Regions from separate parts of the Homo sapiens genome. Here all the other regions are linked to region 1. The links are contacts of gene promoters, found by promoter capture Hi-C in blood cells and fetal thymus (Javierre and others, 2016). All regions are on one chromosome and are shown on one strand. Each heading gives the region's core, a stretch centred on a gene start or on the middle of the fragment in contact. The rest is flanking DNA. Distances are from core to core; before and after follow the strand shown.

Region 1 (3,260 bases), core at 516-3,015:
TCATGATCCACCCGCCTCAGCCTCCCAAAGTGTTGGGATACAGGCATGAGCCACCACGCTTGGCCTACATGTAGAGTCTTGAAAGCCAGGCAGAAAACTTTAGACTCCATGCTGAAGGCATTGAGGAGCAGGAATTTTAAGAGAAGAAGATACAAGAATCTTTCCTGCCGGGGCACAGTTGTGCAAGACACAGAACAAAGCCTTGGGCCCCAGGGATGACCCTGACCCTGGTAAGACAGCCAGTTGTCCTGGTTGCACCTGGGGAGGAAGGGGGAGGGAACTGACCTGGGGCCCTTCCCACAGCAACCCACAGCCACATCCTACCCCTTTTCCTATTCCCCCTCACCGTGTCTTTGCTATCTTCCACTCCACTAGGGAACCAGACCATCTTCCAAAATCTGAGAAAGAATTGGAGGTGGGGGAGTTTGGGCCACAAGACCTGGGAAAGTCCTGCAAGTGTCCCCAGTAAGCCAATAGAAGGTCTTCCCAGAGCCCCTGCTGTTACTCCCTGCAGTGACCTCCCCTCACCCCCACACAGAGAATGTCTGGGGACACCTCCATCACCTTATCACTTAGAGCATCTGAAGTCCACACCAGGTCAGAGAGCTTCCGCAGTAGCATCTCCAGCTGCATCCAGGAGCCCTGGTCGCTGGCATTCCTGGGATAGATGAAGCATTGTGTGTGGTTTGGTTCCCCACGTCCATCTCAAAGCCCTGGACTTGGGGCCTGCTTCATCTTGGGAAGGGGAGCAGAAACTGATGGAACTGTGGGGCAGGCCTGGCCTTCCTGCTCCCGCCCTCTCCCCAGCACCCACCTGAAAACCACGGGGTATTGGTCGATGTCGTTGCCAAGGCTGGAGCCCTGCGGGATCTGTGGGCGCCCCAACAGCACACAAGTCCCACAATAGAAATCAAAATGGCTCACCGAGAGCCTGGGAATCCCTTTAAACAGCTTCCTCCACAATTTCCCAAGCTCGCTCCCTGAGTTCATGCCCTGGAAACAGCAAGAGGGAGATTGGGGGCTGGGCCCAGGGGAGAGAAAACAGAGCTGGGTGGGTGAGATCTCCATCCAGAGGCTGTGAAGACAGGGCCAAGGGCAGGGATTTGGGCGGAAAGTGGGAGATGGGTGAGGCCCGGAAAGCATGGGGGATATGGCCGGGCCCAGTGTTGACCACTGACCAACCACCAGAGCACAGTGTCAGAGGTCATAGACTCTCTTGTCCTCATCAGGTACCCCATAGTCTTCCTGGAGCACGCATCAAGCCAGTTCCATTCGTCGGCTGTGTGGTGGCAGGAGGAGCAGTTGAGGGTCTCAGAAGGGCAGCCACACTTCCCGGAACTGAACCAAGGGCAGTCGCAATGCTGTGGTACCAAGTACATTCGTTTTTCCTGGGGTGCTGATTCAGGTGTCAGATCCAGATAGGGGGTCATCAGCCAGAGGATGAGCACCCAAAAGACCCACAGGACAAAAATCTGCCAGCGCTTCATGTCTGGCCCAGGCGGTGGCTCCCGTGGTGGGCCGTAGACTGGCTTCTCTACCTGTAAGGATGAGGGGCTGAGGCCACAGACAGCACCAGCTTCCCTCTGTCCTGTCGGCCTCCACAACTCCCCATCCCACCACCTTCCACCTCCTTCCAACCCCTCCTCTCCTGCCTCACTATCCATTTGCTCACCCTCAAAACGGTCTCTGACTGGGCATGGGGTGGAAGAGGCCAGGGCAGAGAGACAGCATGTGGCTAGTCCTGAGAGGGGAAGGAATACCTCAGTGGGGGCCTTGCTGTCATCCCAGTTATATCATAGATCTCATCACAAAGTACACATTGTGACCTCCCTCCTTTAGCCTGCCTGAAAAAAGCCACCACCCTACCCTTTCTCTGACACCGAAATGACCTCCACTGGATGTAAGATTCATGAGGACAGGGGCTGACCTAGTCTCTCTTCTTCACCTCTGCAGCTCTAAGACTTAGAATCATTTAATAAATATTTATGGGATAAATAAACAGGGGTTGAGAGGGAACTTTTTTTTTTTTTTTTGAGATGGAGTTTTTGCTCTGTTGTCCAGGCTGGAGTGCAGTGGCATGATCTTGGCTCACTGCAACTTCCGCCTGCCTGGTTCAAGCGATTCTCATGCCTCAGCCTCCCAAGTAGCTGGGACTACAGGCATGCGCCACCACGCCTGGCTAATTTTTATATTTTTAGTGGAGACAGGGTTTCGCCATATTGGCCAGGCTGGTCTCAAACTCCTGACCTCAAGTGATCCGCCCACCTCAGCCTCCCAAAGTGCTGGAATTACAGGCGTGAACCACCATGCCCAGCCGGGAACTTTATTTTTAAATTATTATTATTATTATTATTATTATTATTATTATTATTATTATTTTGAGACGGAGTTTCACTCTTGTCGCCCCAGCTGGAGTGCAGAGGCACGATCTCGGCTCACTGCACCCTCTACCTCCCGGGTTTAAGTGATTCTCTTGCCTCGGTTTCCCAAGTAGCTGGGATTACAGGTGCCCGCCACCACGCCTGGCTAATTTTTTTGTATTTTTAGTAGAGACGGGGTTTCCCCATGTTGGTCAGACTGATCTCGAACTTCTGACCTCAGGTGATCCGCCCGCCTTGGCCTCCCAAAGTGTTGGGATTACAGGCATGAGCCACTGCACCCCGCCCCAGCCTGGAACTTTAAATATACTTGTGTGTGATGCCCTCTCTGGAGTTGTGTGACATCAACTCAATCCTCTCTTGTAGTCTCTAGACCCCATATCCAACAGCCTACTGAATTGCCACTTAGATGGCTCAGAGACATCTCACCTGAATAAGCCTGAGACTGAACCCAGGATTTTCCCTGTAAACCAACCCTTCCCAAAACTTCTCTGTCTCTTTTGTTTTGTTTGAGACAGAGTCTTGCTCTGTCACCCAGGCTGGAGTGCAGTGGCGCAATCTCAGCTCACTGCAACTTCTGCCTCCTCCGGGGTTCAAGCAATTCTCCTGCCTCTGCCTCCCGAATAGCTGGGATTACAGGTGCGTGCCACCAAGCCCGGCTAATTTTTTGTATTTTTGGTACAAACGGGATTCCACCATGTTGGCCAGGCTGATCTCAAACTCCTGACCTCAGGTAATCTGCCCACCTCGGCCTCCCAAAGTACTGGGATTACAGGCGTGAGCCACTGCACCCAGCTTCAAAACTTCTCTATCTCAACAAATGGTTCCACCACGTACCCAGTTATTGAAACCAGAACTCATGTGTTATTAATTCCTCCTACT
Region 2 (3,403 bases), core at 147-2,646, 340 kb after region 1:
CCTACTTGGGAGGCTGAGGCAGGAGAATCTCTTGAACCCAGGAGGCAGAGGTTACAGTGAGCCGATATCGCACCACTGCTCTCCAGCTTGGGTGACAGAGCGAGACTCCATCTCAAAAAAACAAAAAATAATAAAATAAAATAAAATTACATGTGGCTTGCACTCTTAGTATATTTCTGTTGGACAGCACTGACTTTATGTTCACTGGCTTTCTCAACTGAGTTTTGGGAGAGAAGCCACAATACCCAAGGCATCCTTGATCTGTGATGGATTGACCTTAGTGCATTGAGAATGGTACTAGCTGTATACCACCCTTAGGAAAACAGAGAAAATATATCTCTGTTCAGATGGGGAACCCCAGTTGAGAAAATCTGGAAGTTTTAAACCTCCAGGCTGAGCACCATGTTAAGATGTGGGATGAGTGAGAGGCAGGCCCTTTTATGTAAAGTGGGAGAAGGGCAGTTAAAGGCAGTTATTATACAAGGAGAGGTGGAAAATGTAAACTGGCAGAAATCTGACATGTCCTTAGGCAGAAATCTGACATGTCCTTAGCTCAGTTTAGGAAAGAGTATGTATGAGAATTGAGTGTTTTGAAACTAATTCTCCTTTAGGTATTCATGCCCTGGCTTATACCCTCCAGAAGGTATGTACAGAAGTAGTTGTACCCCAACAAGCAGACTGCTCCTTTGAAGCCACATGACTCCATTGAGATAAGAACAAGGACATTCAGTTTTTATATTTTTATAAGTGTAGGATTTCATAATGAGTAGGATAAATTTAATATAGAAGGGATGTTTTCTAAGTTTATGGTTAATCCTTGCCCAAGGCATTTGTGAAAACAGATTCCAGCCATGCCTCAGTTCTTTTCCAGTCAGACTGTCTGGATGGGAATCTGGGAATATGAATTGTTAACAAGCTTCCCAGATGACTTATACTGTAAGAAGAGTTTGGGAAACACTCAAGTTCTGTACAGTCAGCTCCTATTTATATACGGTATCAAAGGGAAGAAGACTTGCCAAGTATCCCATATATTGTTCACATCCCCTTAAAACATTACTTGGAATAAGTTCATTGATTTGTAGAGCCTTCCTTGAGCACCCTAGATTGTATAGACTTGATTGGGAACAGGATCTGAGCTATTTAGAGAGGGTTGTTTATATATATTTTAATTTTTATTTTTTTGAGATGGAGTCTTACTCTGTCTCCCAGGCTGGAGTGCAGTGGCATGATCTCGGCTCATTGTAACCACCGCCTCCTGGGTTCAAGTGATTCTTGTGCCTCAGCCTCCCAAGTAGCTGGGACTACAGGCATGTGCCACCATGCCTGGCTAATTTTTTGTATGTTTAGTAGAGACAGGGTTTCACCATGTTGGCTATGCTAGTCTTGAACTCCTGAGCTCAAGTGATCTGCCTGTCTCTGCCTCCCAAAGTGCTGGGATTACAGGCGTGAGCCACCACACCCAGCCTGTTTGTATTTATGTTTAACTTGGAATGTGTGGGATTTCCAAGTTCTGCCAGTTGGAACAAAATAATATTGGCCCATTGGGAAGTTGGAACACAGGAAGAGCCTCAGAGTTCAACAGTCTTCTCTGGTTTGCTTCCTCACACTTCAGGCCGTGTCTTGTTGAGCCATTTGACCGACCTGAAGCTACAGGTCTTAGATGAGTCTTTTCTGTCCCTCTTCCCCTCTTCTCATCTTTCTCCCTTCCCTTCCTCTTTTCCTCCCATTTACTTCTCTTCTTCCCTCTTCCTTTCCTCCTTCCTCTTCTCTCTCCTCCTTTCACCCTTCCTGAGACCCCTTAGCTCTGCCTTCCTGCCCAACTTCCCAGTTTCTTTCTTCTGCCTGCCTTTTCAATTCTCATCTTTTCTGATTTGGGGTAAGCTTCTTAGGTGGTAGGTTTAAAACAAAATAGTAAGGGCTGGGCATGGTGGCTCACGCCTGTAATCTCAGCACTTTGGGAGGTCAAGGCAGGCAGATCACCTGAGGTCAGGAGTTCGAGAACAGCCTGACCAACATGGAGAAACCCTGTCTCTACTAAAGATACAAAATTAGCCAGGTGTGGTGGCGCATGCCTGTAATCCCAGCTACTTGGGAGGCTGAGGCAGGAGAATCACTTGAACCCGGGAGGCAGAGCTTGCGGTGAGCTGAGATCGCACCATTGCAGTCCAGCCTGGGCAACGAGAGCAAAACTCTATCTCAAAAAAAAGTTAATAGTAAATACTATGCTGGGCAGGTGGCTCACACCTGTAATCTCAGCACTTTGGGAGGCTGAGGCGGGCAGATCACTTGATGTCAGGAGTTCAAGACCAGCCTGGCCAACATGGTGAAACCCCATCTCTATTAAAAATACAAAAAAAAAAAAATTTTGCTAGGTATGGCAGGTGCCTGTAATCCCAGCTACAGGGAAGGCTGAGGCAGGACAATCACTTGAACCCAGGAGGCAGAGGTAGCAGTGAGCCGAGATCGTGCCACTGCACTCTAGCCTGGGCAACAGACCCAGACTTCATCTCAAAAAAACAAGCAAGCAAGCAAGCAAGCAAGCAAACAAAATCTAAATAGTAAGTACTCTTCAAAGGCTTAGCGTCTGTACTGCTAAATTATGTCAGAGCTGGGTTTGCTGGGGACCAGCAGCCTTGCCTGAAACATTGACTGTTAACTAGCATAGTCTCCCAAGAATTTTTTTAGGATTTTGTTTAAGAAAATACAAATTCTCGGCTGGGTCTCATGGCTCATGCTTGTAATCCCAGAACTTTGGGAGGACGAGGCAGCTGGATCACTTGAGGTCAGGAATTTGAGACCAGCCTGACCAACATGGGGAAACCGTGACTCTACTAAAATTACAAAAATTAGCCGGGTGTGGTGTCGGGTGCCTGTAATCCCACCTACTCCGGAGGCTGAGGCAGGAGAATCGTTTGCACCTGGGAGGCGGAGGTTGCAGTGAGCAGAGATCGCGGCACTGCACTCCAGCTTGGGTGACAGAGCGAGACTCCATCTCAAAAAAAAAAAATCCACAAATTCTCTTGGACATTTTTCTTGTACCCTCAAAACTAGGCCCAGTGCTAAGATAATTAATGTAGCAAGTAGAGGTTGAAAACTGGAGCTGGATCATAGAAAAGATTCAGGAGGTCAATTGGCAAGGTATCACCATCTCCTGTAAGGAAGTAATTTCTCACTCATTTTACTTTTTTTCTTTTATCTTAAGTAAGAATGCCCTTTTGATGGCCCATTTATAATGCAGTGATTTCTGCATATATATATGTATATATGTTTTATTTATATATAAAAATGACAGACACTAAGAAATTATGTATCTTTTTTTGTGTGGTTTTATAAACATGGTAGCTGTGGATTCAAACTCTCAAACTTTGCAACCAATAACATTGGAACTGAGAAGAAGGAAAAT
Region 3 (3,466 bases), core at 864-3,363, 420 kb after region 1:
TCAAGCAATTCTCCTGCTTCAGCCTCCCGAGTAGCTGGGATTATAGGTGCACACCGCCATGCCTGGCTAATTTTTGTATTTTTAATAGAGACGGGGTTTCACTATGTTGGCCAGGCTGGTCTCGATCTCCTGACCTCATGATCTGCCTGCCTCGGGCTCCCAAAGTGCTGGGATTACAGGTGTGAGCCACTGCACCCAGCCTGAACAGTACTTTAAAACTAAAAGACAAAGGATATTTAATGACCATGAAAAGTAAAAAAGTCTTTTGGCATTAGAGAGATTATTTTCTTAAATAAAAAATGTTGCCTTGGTGAGCAGTGGTCTCTATACACATGATCTTAGTGTATTTGAACAGAATTTTTTCCTCTGTAACCTTCTGTCTTGCTAGCAACCACTATGCTAGTTGGAAGCTGTTCTGCATCTTTAAAAGAGACACTTGGGATGGTGCAGCACATGGTATGGAGAGGGTGGCCTGCTGGATGCTGGGGTCCAGAGGAGATGCTGTTGACTTCCCACAGTCCTGGCTTTGTTCTTCAGCCTAACAGACCTAGACAGACAGCTTCCATCTCAGGAACTCCACACACTCCTGTTAACCAAGCTCAGGCACTACTGAGTGGCTTAGACTCTTCCAGTCTGAGCGTTGGTGCGCTTTCACACTGTGCATGCCTCCTGGGCCACCGTAGTATCGGGATGTCTTTGGTGAGCCTGGAACTAGATCCAAGGTAGTTAGGGTGACCTTAAGAGGGGCCTCTCAGCAACTGTAGGATCATCTTGCAAAAGATTGACTGACTCTCTTTGCTGTTGGAGTGACCCATCCAGTCCTGACTGCCTTTTGTCCATTTATTTATTTTTATTTTATTTTATTTTTTTAAGACGGAGTCTTGCTCTTTCTCGCCCAGGCTGGAGTACAGTGGCATGATCTCGGCTTACTGAAGCCTCTGCCTCCCAGGTTTAAGCGACTCTTCCTTCCTCAGCCTCCCAAGTAGCAGGCAGATGCCTGCCACCACACCTGGCTGATTTTGTATTTTTAATAGAGATGGGGTTTCACCATGTTGGCCAGGCTTGTCTTGAATTTCTGACCTCAGGTGATCCACCTCCCTTGACCTCCCAAGGTGTTGGGATTACAGGCGTGCACGTCCGGCCTCTCCATTTATTCTTCTGCCTGTTTGCTGAACAGTCCCCTGTCTCCTTCTAGTTTTTTTTAAAGACTTACTGGTGTTTTGAAACTGGTCACTATCCAGTTTTCTTGCTCAGCAGGCCACTAGTTCCTCTCACATGACTGATCTTTTACTAATGGTTTTCAAGCTTAAGTCTGAGGAGGTGGTCTTATTTTTCTTATTTCCAAGTCCTTGTACTTGCTGGAATTAGGAAGAGAGAGGGTTCCTCCTTCTTGGAACCCCCAAATACCAACAAGAAATATGATGGAGGAGGATAAACTACATAGGGCCCAGAGCAATGGGTAGGGCGCTTTGCTGGACCACACATTCCTTCTCTCGCTGTGTTTGTTGCAGGCTTGCCACATTTCAGACACAGGTGAGTGTTAGGGATATAGTGGCAAGCAAGGCAGACTCAGCCTTTGCCCTCGTGGAACTTGATCTAGTGGGAGAGACATATATTAAACAAATCATCCCATTACCTGTAATGACAAACCATAGTAAATGCTCAAAGGAGAACATGTGATATCATAGCACCTGTAACACAAGGACCAGATTCAGGGTATAGGGTTGGGGAAGGCTTCCCTAAAGAATAGCTCACAAGAAACAGAGGATTTAGAAAGGTGGAGAGGAAGGTAGGGCTGCATCTGAGGACAGGAGAGGATTGCGCAGTAGGTTGCAGGCTGCTTGATGAAGAGGTACTGGGTGGGCCTTTCTTTTGCTGCACTCCAGGGTCCAGAAGGTGCTCAGTACAGGTTGGTGCATGGACTAGAAAGGCTACAGGCAGGCTGGGATAGCACAGGGGCTACCTGCAGGGGGTGGTTCTTGTCAAAGGTGCAGGGTTCCCAGATGGTCTCTCCCCAAATGCCAGAGCTTTAGGGGGTAGCTTAGGGAAGAACAAACATCTTTCTGTAGAGAAATACTTGTTCTCACAAGCAAGACAGCTTTCTAGATATTGAACCAATGATGATAATGTTAATTAATACCTGAAATCTTACATTAAATATTTAAAGGGGTCCTGCATGGTGGTTCATGCCTGTAATCCTAGCACTTTCAAAGTGGCCAAGGCAGGTGGATCACCTGAGGTCAGGAGTTCGAGGCCAGCCTGGCCAACATGATGAAACCCCATCTCTACTAAAAATAACAAAAATTAGCCAGGCGTGGTGGTGTGTGCCTGTAATACCATCTCCTCAGGAGGCTGAGGCAGGAGAATCGCCTGTACCCGGGAGGCGGAGGTTGCAGTGAGTCGAGATCATTGCCATTGTACTCCAGCCCAGGCAACAAGAGCGAAACTCTGTCTCAAAAGAAAAAAAAAGGCCAGGCCCAGTGGCTCATGCCTGTAATCCTAGCAGTTTGGGAGGCCGAGGTGGGTGGATCACCTGAGGTCAGGAGTTTGAGACCAAAATACAAAAATTCGCCGGGCGTGGTGGCACATGCCTGTAATCCCAGCTACTTTGGAGGCTGAGGCAGGAGAATCGCTTGAACCTAGGAGGCAGAGATTACAGTGAGCTGAGATGGCGCCACTGCACTCCAGCCTGGGCGACACAGTGAGACTCCATCTCAAAAAAATAAATAAATAAGTAAATAAATAAAGGGAGAAAATAATAACAGAGTATTCTGTGCCACTGATGATTGCGTATCAATCAGGAATTAATATGAAGCAAATCAGAGTTTATGATATACAAATAGACCTTTTCAAGACCCTATAGATTTTCATTTTTCTTGACAGGATGCTAAAACACCAGGCTCTCTGATTTTCAACATGGGAAAGCTTTTTATTTTTTATTTTATTTTATTTTATTTTATTTTATTTATTTTATTTTATTTTATTTTATTATTTTATTTATTTTATTTTTTGAGATGGAGTCTCGCTTTGTCGCCAGGCTGGAGTGCAGTGGCACGATCTCGGCTCACTGCGACCTCCGCCTCCCGGGTTCAAGCAATTCTCCTGCCTCAGCTTCCTGAGTAGCTGGGACTACAGACGGGCACCACCATGCCTGGCTAATTTTTGTATTTTTAGTGGAGATGGGGTTTCACCATGTTGGCCAGGATGGTCTTGATCTCTTGACCTTGTGATCTGCCCGCCTCGACCTCCCAAAGTGCTGGGATTATAGGCATGTGCCACCGCGCCCGGCTGGGAAAGCTTTTTAAAGAGTGAGTGGTAACACTCAGAAAGGTGCTTCCTTCCAAGACTTCTAGACTCTGGTAACAGTAGCCTCTGGCAATGTGTGGCTGTTTAACCAAAACTGAATAAAATTTAAAATTCAGTTCCTCAGTTGCATTAGCCATGTTTCCAGCGCTCAATAGCTGCA

Evidence for each region. Contacts are between HindIII fragments. The CHiCAGO score rates a contact against its expected background, and 5 or more counts as called.
Region 2: a contact is called between a fragment that was not itself captured here and the fragment with the promoter of C20orf173 in region 1, in 1 of 17 cell types (naive CD8 T cells). The highest score is 5.1, in naive CD8 T cells.
Region 3: a contact is called between a fragment that was not itself captured here and the fragment with the promoter of C20orf173 in region 1, in 1 of 17 cell types (erythroblasts). The highest score is 5.4, in erythroblasts.

The regions. Positions count from the first base shown.
Region 1 is chr20:35,527,887-35,531,146 of GRCh38, forward strand. C20orf173 (chromosome 20 open reading frame 173) reads right to left here and starts at 1,766. Exons shown (of 6, transcript NM_001145350.2): 1 at 1,673-1,766; 2 at 1,179-1,538; 3 at 815-993; 4 at 565-658; 5 at 347-398. The coding sequence starts at 1,487. The coding sequence ends at 372. The HindIII fragment of the contact is 24,584 bases long and covers 1-3,260 here.
Region 2 is chr20:35,866,096-35,869,498 of GRCh38, forward strand. It overlaps PHF20 (PHD finger protein 20), which reads left to right. Exons shown (of 18, transcript NM_016436.5): 7 at 3,343-3,403. Among named protein-coding and RNA genes, the nearest start is that of SCAND1, 87 kb to the right of the region's middle. The HindIII fragment of the contact is 965 bases long and covers 915-1,879 here.
Region 3 is chr20:35,943,718-35,947,183 of GRCh38, forward strand. All of the region lies in intron 17 of PHF20 (PHD finger protein 20), which reads left to right. Among named protein-coding and RNA genes, the nearest start is that of SCAND1, 9.1 kb to the right of the region's middle. The HindIII fragment of the contact is 1,620 bases long and covers 1,304-2,923 here.